Regions from separate parts of the Homo sapiens genome. Here regions 2 and 3 are each linked to region 1. Evidence: promoter capture Hi-C in 16 types of primary human blood cells and fetal thymus (Javierre and others, 2016). All regions are on one chromosome and are shown on one strand. Each heading gives the region's core, a stretch centred on a gene start or on the middle of the fragment in contact. The rest is flanking DNA. Distances are from core to core; before and after follow the strand shown. Region 1 holds the start of ST3GAL3-AS1 (ST3GAL3 antisense RNA 1). Region 2 overlaps ST3GAL3 (ST3 beta-galactoside alpha-2,3-sialyltransferase 3). Region 3 overlaps PTPRF (protein tyrosine phosphatase receptor type F).

Evidence for each region. The method cuts DNA at HindIII sites, captures the fragments that hold promoters and counts their contacts. A CHiCAGO score of 5 or more calls a contact.
Region 2: a contact is called between a fragment that was not itself captured here and the fragment with the promoter of ST3GAL3-AS1 in region 1, in 1 of 17 cell types (endothelial precursors). The highest score is 5.3, in endothelial precursors.
Region 3: a fragment that was not itself captured here is called in contact with the fragment with the promoter of ST3GAL3-AS1 in region 1 in 2 of 17 cell types (megakaryocytes and M1 macrophages); the score reaches 8.0 in megakaryocytes.

The regions. Positions count from the first base shown.
Region 1 is chr1:43,725,875-43,729,075 of GRCh38, reverse strand. It overlaps ST3GAL3-AS1 (ST3GAL3 antisense RNA 1), which reads left to right and starts at 1,733. Exons shown (of 4, transcript NR_125986.1): 1 at 1,733-1,843. All of the region lies in intron 1 of ST3GAL3 (ST3 beta-galactoside alpha-2,3-sialyltransferase 3), which reads right to left. The HindIII fragment of the contact is 15,149 bases long and covers 1-3,201 here.
Region 2 is chr1:43,926,683-43,929,883 of GRCh38, reverse strand. All of the region lies in intron 11 of ST3GAL3 (ST3 beta-galactoside alpha-2,3-sialyltransferase 3), which reads right to left. Among named protein-coding and RNA genes, the nearest start is that of ARTN, 5.5 kb to the left of the region's middle. RefSeq lists an enhancer at 1-287. The HindIII fragment of the contact is 3,253 bases long and covers 13-3,201 here.
Region 3 is chr1:43,535,973-43,539,173 of GRCh38, reverse strand. It overlaps PTPRF (protein tyrosine phosphatase receptor type F), which reads right to left. Exons shown (of 34, transcript NM_002840.5): 2 at 897-976. Among named protein-coding and RNA genes, the nearest start is that of PTPRF, 6.7 kb to the right of the region's middle. The HindIII fragment of the contact is 188 bases long and covers 1,624-1,811 here.

The DNA.
Region 1 (3,201 bases), core at 484-2,983:
TCTACAAAAAATTTAAAAATTAGCTAGGCCTGGTGGCATGTGCCTGTAGTCCCAGTTACTCAGGAGTCTGCAGTGGGAGGAGCACTTGAGCCTAGGCAGTGAAGGCTGCAGTGAGCTGAGAACATGCAACTGCACTCCAGCCTGGGCGACAAAGAGAGACTCTGTCTCAAAACGAACAATAATACAGAAATATATATGTGTGTGTGTGTATATGTACATATGTGTGTATACATATGTGTATATATGTGTGTTATATATACAAAGACATAAAAATAAATATAGTGAGGATAGTGTGTGTACATTTGTGTGTATACACACATATAATTTTTTTTAAACAGTTTCTGTCATTCAGACCAGAGTGCAGTGGCGTGATCATACCTCACTGCAACCTCGACCTCCTGGGCTCAAGTGATCCTCCCATCTCAGCTTCCCAAGTAGGTAGGACCATAGGCACGTGTCACCACGCCCAGCTACTAAAATTTTTTTAACTTTTTGTGGCAACAGGGTCTTGCTATGTGGCCCAGGTTGGTATCAAACTCCTAGACTCAAATGATCCTCCTGCCTTGGCCTCCCAAAGTGCTGGGATTACAGGCGTGCGCCACTGTGCCCACCCCCCCAACATATAACTCTTTAGCTCTGCCCACAGAAAGACCCTGGCAGTGGTCATATCTCAACAGCATGAAGCATATCTAGTACCTAGATTTTGATGGTGTTTTTGTTTTTGTTTTTGTTTTCTGAGAAGGAGTTTCGCTCTTGTTGCCCAGGCTGGAGTGCAATGGTGCGATTTCAGCTCACGATAACCTCCGTAGATCTTGGTTTTGAAATACTATTCTCCACTAACAAGAAGCAGGGTGCAGCCATAAAAAAAGAATGAATTCAGGTCTTTGCAGCAACATGGTTGCTGCTGGAGGCCATCATCCTAAGCAAATTAACGCAGGAACAGAAAACCAAATACCACATGTTCTTACTTGTAAGTGGCAGCTAAACATTGGGTACTTACGGACACACAGATGGCAATAACAGACACTGGAGACTACTAGATGGGGATGAGGGGTGAAGGCGCAAGGGTTGAAAAATGAACTGTTGGGTACTATGCTGAGTACATGGGTGACAGGATCAATCATACTCCAAATCTCAGCATCACACAATACCCATGTAACAAACCTGAACATGTATCACTGAATTGAAAATAAAAGTTGAAATTATTTTTTTAAAAAAGGTTTAGGACACAGATAGAAAAAGGCACTTAATATTCAAGAGGAGTCATGGGTCTTCCGGGAGAAAAAAAAAATTTTTGAGACACCTAAAACCCAGAACAATGTGAAGTTTGGGGAAGGGATGAGGCTAAAGACAGCATAAATGATTTTTCAAAGTTATGTTTGAAGCAAGAAGAAAAGATGAGGAATAGGTTTAGTTTCATCTCTGATACAGCATTTCTTGTTAAAACTGATGGCTTTCTCTGCAGGCACCTGCCTTCTGAATGCTGGTCCCACTCAGCCATCCACTTTCACTTTTTACCAAGTTAATTTCTACTGATTCTTCAGATCAGTTAATTACTGGTATGCTGCCCCTCCCCAGTCAAGGATCTTTTATTACCCTACCATAGAATCACATTTCTTTCCTTAGTGCACTTCTCTCACTTGAGAAATGCCCCCATTAATGTTATTACTTGATTAATATCGACCTCCCTTTTCTCCTTCCAGGGCTGAAATTGTGTCTGGTTTTGCTCATCATCTTATAGCATATAGCAGGAGTGTAATAAACAATTGCTTAAAAAAAAAAAAGGAAGCAGGTCTCCTTGGAAGAATGGCTGACTCCAAGGCTGGGGCAGAGAAGGCGTAAGGTAAGTCTGGGCCACCTTGTTGTGCCTGAAAATGGGAAAATGCTCAGAGTGAGGACAGGTCAAAAGGAAAAAGGAATCAGCCTGAGGAGCTCCCACTGGTCAGATCTGGAGCAATTCAGCATCAAGATAAAGACTGATAATAACAGATTATAATCCATTAAATAAGAATCTAATAAAGGGGGAGAAAGCTCTCAGAGTGAAACGACAGCTGATGAAAATAGAAGGAATAATGTAATTAGAAAATCACCATTTAGGAACCATTATAGTAATAATTCACCCAAGAAACATCAATGGATGCTAAAATTAATGCATACAAGTTTTACAAGAAATGGGATACAGGGCCAGAAACAATGGCTTACACCTGTAATCCCAGCACTTTGGGAGGCCGAGGCAGGCGGATCATTTGAGGTCAGGAGTTCGAGACCAGCCTGGCCAACATGGGGAAACCCCATATTACTAAAAATACAAAAATTAGCCAGGCATGGTGGCACCCACCTGTAATCTCAGCTACTTGTGTGGCTGAGGCAGAAGAATTGCTTGAACTCGGCAGGCGGAGGCTGCAGTGAGCCAAGATCGTGCCACTGCACTCCAGCCTGAACAAGAAAACAAGACTCTATCTCAAGAAAAGAAAAAGAAATGGGATATAGGCCAGGCACAGTAGCCCATGCCTGTAATACTAGCACTTTGGGAGGCCAAGGTAGGAGGATCACATGAGGCCAAGAGTTCAAGACCAGCCTGGGCAACACAGCAAAATTCCACCTCTAGAAAAAATTTTAAGATTAGCTGGGCATAGTGGCATGTGCCTGTAGTCCCAGCTACTTGGGAGGCTGAGGAGGGAGGATTACTTGAGCCCAGGAGTTAGAGGCTGCAATGAGCTAAGATCATGCCACCGCACTCCAGCCTGAGTGACAGAGCAAGACCCTATCTCTTATAAATAAATAAATAAAAAATAAGATATAAAATAGTTTTAAACTATTTCCTCACTAATTATTAACAGAGGGGAACAGAGTAACTTTGAAGTTGAGAAATCTGACAGACATCACAATAAGCTAGCTGAAGGGGACATATGGGAGTTCTTTGTAATATTTCTACAACTCTTTTGTAAATAAGAAGTTATTTCAAAATGAAAAGTTAAAAAGGGAAAGGAATTTTAAACTAAATGTTCAAATAAACATCTAAATGAGAGTTTATGCAGCCACTTTAAATGGCTGCATAAACTTAAAAAAATTTTTTAATGGTATAGAGAAATGCTTTTGGTATCGTACTAAATGAGAAAAATAAAACGTGAGGCTGGGTGCGATGGCTCACGCCTGTAATCCCAGCACTTTGGGAAGCTAAGGCAGGCACATCACTTGACC
Region 2 (3,201 bases), core at 390-2,889, 200 kb before region 1:
AACCGTTAAGCTTCCCAACCTCCCTCCTCAGTGCTGGCGGAAGGACCTTGTTCCCACAGACTTCAAGCCACTTCTTGTCATGAAGCACCTAGGTTATAGACACCCTGCGGGCAGGCAGTGTGAGTCACTGAAGTCCAACAGCAAGGGGTGGCTGAGTCACTCCCTGGCCTGATGCAATCTACTCTCCAGGCCTGGGGGCGGCGGATGAAATCCTGCCTCCCAGATCAGAGGAGCTATGGGGCCTGCGGAGAGATGGCAAATCTTTTTTAGAAAATTAAAAATAGGCCAGGCGCGGTGGCTCACGCCTGTAATCCCAGCACTTTGGGAGGCCGAGGCGGGTGGATCACGAGGTCAGGAGTTCAAACCAGCCTGACCAACATGGTGAAACCCTGTTTCTACTAAAAATACAAAAATTAGCTGGGTGTGATGGTAGCGCCTATAATCCCAGCTACTCAGGAGGCTGAGGCAGGAGAATCGCTTGAACCCGGGAGGCAGAGGTTGCAGTGAGCCGAGATCGCGCCACTGCACTCCAGCCTGGGCAACAGAGAGAGATTCTGTCTCAAAAAAAAAAAATAATAATTAAAACTAATTTTTTAATTGAAAGAATTGTACATATTTTTGGGGTAGAATGTGATGTTTTGATAGATGTATACATTGTGGAATAATTAAATCAAGCCAACCTCACCTACTTACCAATTTTTTATGGTGAGCACATTTGACTATAGTTAATAATAATGTCATATATTTCAAAATTACTAGAAGAGGCTTCTGGGGAAGACTGTACCTGGGATAGGGTCCTTTCCTAACCCCAGGACTCTCACCAGAAAACTTTGATGAAAAAGGCTTGATTTAATGAATGAAGGGCTGAATGACAGCAGCCTTATCAGAGTTTGTCCCCAAGTGACCTCTCTGTTGCGTTTGTCAGCATTGAGCTTCACCATAACTGTTTATTTTTTATCTATTTATTTATTTTTGAGACAGAGTTTCGCTCTTGTTGCCCAGGCTGGTGTGCAGTGGTGTGATCTCAGCTCACTGCAACCTCTGCCTCCCAGGTTCAAGCGATTCTCCTGCCTCAGCCACCTGAGTAGCTGGGACTACAGGAGTGCACCACCACACCCAGCTAATTTTGTATTTTTAGTAGAGATGGGGGTTTCACCATGTTGGTCAGGCTGGTTTTGAACTCCTGACCTCAGGTGATCCACCTGCCTCAGCCTCCCAAAGTGCTGGGATTACAGGCATGAGCCACCGTGCCCGGACCACCATAAATGTTTTTGTTTTTTTTTTCAGATGGTGTCTTGCTCTGTTGCCCAGGCTGGAGTGCAGTGGCACGATCTTGGCTCACTGCAACCTCCGCCCCCCGGGTTCAAGGGATTCTCCTGCCTCAGTCATCTGAGTAGCTGGAACTACAGGTGCCTGCCACCACACCTGGCTAATTTTTTGTATTTGTAGTAGAGATGGGGTTTCACCATGTTGGCCAGGATGGTCTCTATCTCCTGACCTTGTGATCCACCAGCCTCAGCCTCCCAAAGTGTTGGGATTACAGGTGTGAGCCATCGTGCCCGGCCAATAACTGTTAACAGCCACTATTTAGTGGTGCTGAGAAGTGAGCTGGATGCAGTGCCCTGTGCCTGTAGTCCCAACTACTTGGGAGGCTGAGGCAGGAGGATCACTTGAGCTTAGTCCACCTGGGCAACATATAGAAACCCCATCTTTTGAAAAATAATAAATAAATGAATTTTTTACAAAGAACTTATGGCTTGCTCTGTCTAGCCCTTATTCTGATCCAGTCAACCTTCTCCACCTTCCAAATCTTTTACATCTGAAACTCAGGTAGTCATCAGCCAAATTCCCGCAGTCATCAGCCAAATTCCCAATATTCCTCTTCTCTGAGCATTCCCTTCAACCTCTTGTGCTAATCACAAACCCAGCTGCCCTGAAGGAGAGTGCCCCCATACCCCCTCTCAAGTGGTGACCGTTTCTTCCCTCACATTCCACACTCCACAGCCTCTGAAGGCGGGAAGCGTCTTCCTTACACCCCGTTGTCCCTCAGACTCCCTAAAGCCCTCCGGCCCCTTCAAGGCTCCTGTCATTATACTCTGCCATCTGCACTTGCCCCTCCTCATTGCAGATCCCTGGGCGACTCATCCCCATTCTTTGAAGACTTAAGCATCTGGCTCACTGTCTCTCTTTGAGGGTAGGGACTGTTAGGCACAGAGTAGGTGCCTCAATATTTGTTGAATGAAATTAGGTTTTACAGGGAAAACAGAGACTTGGAGGAAAGACAAGGCCAGGATTCAAGCAGATGTGGAAACTCGTTTGCCTCTTTACTTATCCCTCGTCCTCATCACTCCTCTGGAGAAGTAGTAACGAATTTGATGGGTCAGGGTCAACAGCACCCACTAGGAGTCATTGAGGGTTAAAAGGTCAGCAGAGGACTGGACATTTGATGATATTAAGGAATTACTGTTCATGTTTTTAGGTGTAATAATTTAAAAAATAGTCCTTATCTTTTAGAGAAAATGAATGAAGTTTTTTGTTTTGGTTTGGTTTTTGTTTTTGAGATGGAGTTTTACTCTTGTTGCCCAGGCTGGAGTGCAATGGTGCGATCTTGGCTCACTACAACCTCTGCCTCCCGGGTTCAAGCAATTCTCCTGCCTCAGCCTCCTGAGTAGCTGGGATTACAGGCACGCACCACCACTGGCTAATTTGTATTTTTAGTAGAGACAGGATTTCGCCATGTTGGGCAGGCTAGTCTCGAACTCCCGACCTCAGGTGATCCACCTGCATCGGCCTCCCAAAGTGCTGAGATTACAGGCGTGAGCCACCACGCCCGGCCTGAATGAAGTATTTATGGTTGGAGGGATATATGGTATCTGAGACATGTTTGAATCAGTGGAGTGGGAGCATGAGACAAAGAAGAGATGGAACAATGTTGGCCGCCTGTTGATGCCTGTGGAAGGTGGGGGGCAGGAACGTGGGAGTTCATGATATTATCCTCTGTACTCGTAATATGCTTGACAATTTCCATCATAAAAAAGTAAACAAGAAAGTCAGCCCTGGGGTGTAGCTCTCTTGGATCCGGCAATGCCACCTCTCTGGTGCTCTTTTCCTAATTCTATGCAGACAACTTCTGAGTTCACCTGAGCTTTGAACTGGCCGCGGCTGGTGGAGGATTCTGGTCATCCTGGGGTCTCCAGCCTT
Region 3 (3,201 bases), core at 468-2,967, 190 kb after region 1:
CCTCTTTGGTGGGCTTCCTGCCTTCAATCACTCCCAACCCATCCCGCACACAGACCAGTGCCACCTTTCAGCACATAAAAATGCAAATCTGCACTTTTGTTTGCCACTTTATTTCACAGCAGGCATTCAGACAGTGTTCCGTGAAAGAATGAACGGATGGGCAATGGACAGATCAACACATGGATATTGCTTCTCTGCTTAAGAACCTTCAATGCTGCTGTATTGCCCTCAGGAAAAAGTCTAAAGTCTTTAGCCTGACATCCAAGGCCCATGATGCTGACTCTAAACCAACTTACCAACCTCATTCCCTGCAACTCCAGCCCACCCATTCTGTGCTTCTAACAGACAGAGAGGAGAACAAGGGGACATCAAAGAGATGCAGAGGACATGCCCAGATCCTGCAGGCACCAAGCTCTTTCTACGACAACCTACAGTCGATGGGAACAGTCTTTTCTACAGAAACGTGGCGAATGGAGAAGCAGAAGAAAGATCCTGGTGTAAGTCCCAGGACATCACCCGGAAGCCTATTTCACACCTACAGTAGCTGACGAGCTGTATGTCATTCCCCATCCACCTCTATCATCCACTCCAGCCAGAAACTCAGGCACCATCCTTGACACCTCCCCTCCTTCATGCCCCACATTCAATCCTTCACCACGTCCTGTCTACTCTACCTCCCTAAATAGCACTCACATCCCTTCTCTCCACTTCTGTCACTGCCTCCCTGGTCCAGGCCTCCACAATCTCTCACCAGTGCACACTGGATCATGTCATGCCCCCTGCTGACACCCCCTCTATAGCTCTCCACTGACCCTGCATCAAATCCAAGCTGCTCAGCCTGGTCCATAGGACCCCTGTGCACCCCTGCTCCTGGCCACTCTGTGGGGCACACTCACCGAGTCTTTGCTTCTTCACCCCGGTCACTCTTGCTGGATACTCAGCACCAAGGGCCGGGCACCAGGGCCTCCACTCCTTCCTGGACAGAAAGGAAAGCATGAGAAAACATCAAGAATTTCATCACAACAGCATATGTATTGACACAGAAAGACATTAAAAATTTGCTGTTTATGCAGAAAAAAAAGCAGGTTATGGAAATGTTCATGTAGAACCATCCCCATCTGGTAAAAATGCCCATCTTTTCCCTTCACTCCCTCGCTCATTCATTTTGATACTCCCTAAGCACCTACTATGTGCTGGGCGTCCTTCCAGGCACCAGCCATATAGCTGTGAGCCACACAGACCAAGTCCCTGACCTCAGCAGTAGACTCTGTGGCCCAGCTCCTCAGCATGACCCCAGAGCCAAGCAGAGTCGGCCCCTCCCACCTCTGCAGCCCTACCTGCCCATGCTCTCCTCCTGCCAGAACGGGAACTTCCTCTTCTGATCCTCAAATGTGCCAAATTTCTTCCTGTCTCCCAGCCTTGCCAGTGCTGAATGCCACTGCCTGGCACAGGCTACCCATGCTCTTCTGGCCAACTTACCCTCGGATCTCAAGTCCAGTGGCACTTTCTCAGGGAAGCCTTCCACAATGTCCCAGACTACCTGCCTGGACCTTGGCTTGGAGCCGTGACCACAAACATGACTATTTATATATTTTTACAATTACTGAGTCACTACCATAAGCTTGATAGGAGCATGGACTGTGGCTGCCCAGCTCATTTCCGTATCCCCAGCGCCTGGCTGACAGCTGGCACATAGTAGGTGCTCAGTCAGCATACACTGAATGAGTGGATGAACGCATGAATGAGTTCAAAGAAAACAGCCCAGCCTGGAAGAACACACCCCAACATACATGCCAGTCTTCAAAGAAGCTTCAGAAGCAATATTTATTTTTGACTTTCTCTACTCTATAATTTTTAAAATGAAGGCGTGCCCCTGGATGCCTCCTCCGCTGGCACACATGCAGCGACAGAGCCCAGCCCCTTCCTTCTAGAGCCATTATTGAGTCCCCACCAGCGTGGGTACCATCCTGGGTGGGGGTGGGGGTCAGACACACCCATACCACCTCATCACCACTTCACGGAAGCTCAGCTGTTTGGCCTACTCGACGCAAGCTGCACCTTGCAGCAGGCTTCTCACCTCAAGCCCCCACATGCACAGTGATCCCCACCCCACACCACTCTGCCACCTTGGCTCCTCCTATAACGGACACAAAGAAACCACAGTGGGAGGGTGGTGCGTGGGAATGTCCTCACCGGCCCAAGACTGACCCTCATCATGAAATCAAGGACACACCTCTGCACCTGGGAATTACCCTCAAGTTGCACTAACCACCTCTGCCAATATGGGGGTACTCTCACCGACTGAAGGCCATCCCAACTGACCCAAGATGGCCCTCGCCAGCTTGGCGACCCAGCCTCCACTGCCCCACCTACCTGCACCAGAACCCGCAGCCCTCTCTGCATGCTTCCCTCCCCGCTCCCCAAGCTGAGTTTCCAGCAGCTGCTGCTCCCAGCATACAGGCTGCCCAGCAGGTCTGGCCAGACAAACCAGCTTCCAGGCCCCAAACTTAAAGGCCCATTTGTCTAGAGATGCCCGCAGGGCCTCACAGTATTCAAGTGAGGTTTTTGGCTGCACCATTGTGCAGAGACCCTGGGCAGAGGGGCAGAGTCCAAGGCAGGGAACTGGGTAATGGGAAAGGCCCCCCAAGCTGGCCAGGCGCTGCTGCCACACCCAGCCACAGCAGGGTCTCGTGCTTGGAGACTGAGACAGGCCCTACATGGAGCAGAAGCCACACCTGGAAAGAGGTGTGTACCCAAAGTGGCCAGGGGCCATTTTAGAAGACTAAACATTTGCAAAGACCCTGAGGCACACAGAACAGCATGAGGGCAGGATCCTAGAAAAGCCAAACAGTAACTTTGAACCACGTCAGTCTGGGATCAAACTGACCTCAAAACAACCTATCAGGCAACCAAATAAAGACTCAGATTCACCAACTGCAGCTCCCAGAACCCACTCTACACTCACACTGGGACAGAGCCCAGAACAACCAGGACAACCAGATACACCCCCAGAACAGAGCCAGAGCTGACATCTGGAAGGTTGACTAGAAAGCTACTCAGAAAGGGCCTGAATGGTTCAGGACCCAAGTTAGAAATCACACTGCTGGCCAGTCACAGTGGCTCACCCCTGTAATCCCGGCACTTTGGGAGGCCAAGGCAGGTGGATCACTTGAGCCAGGAGTTCAAGAGCAGCCTGGACAA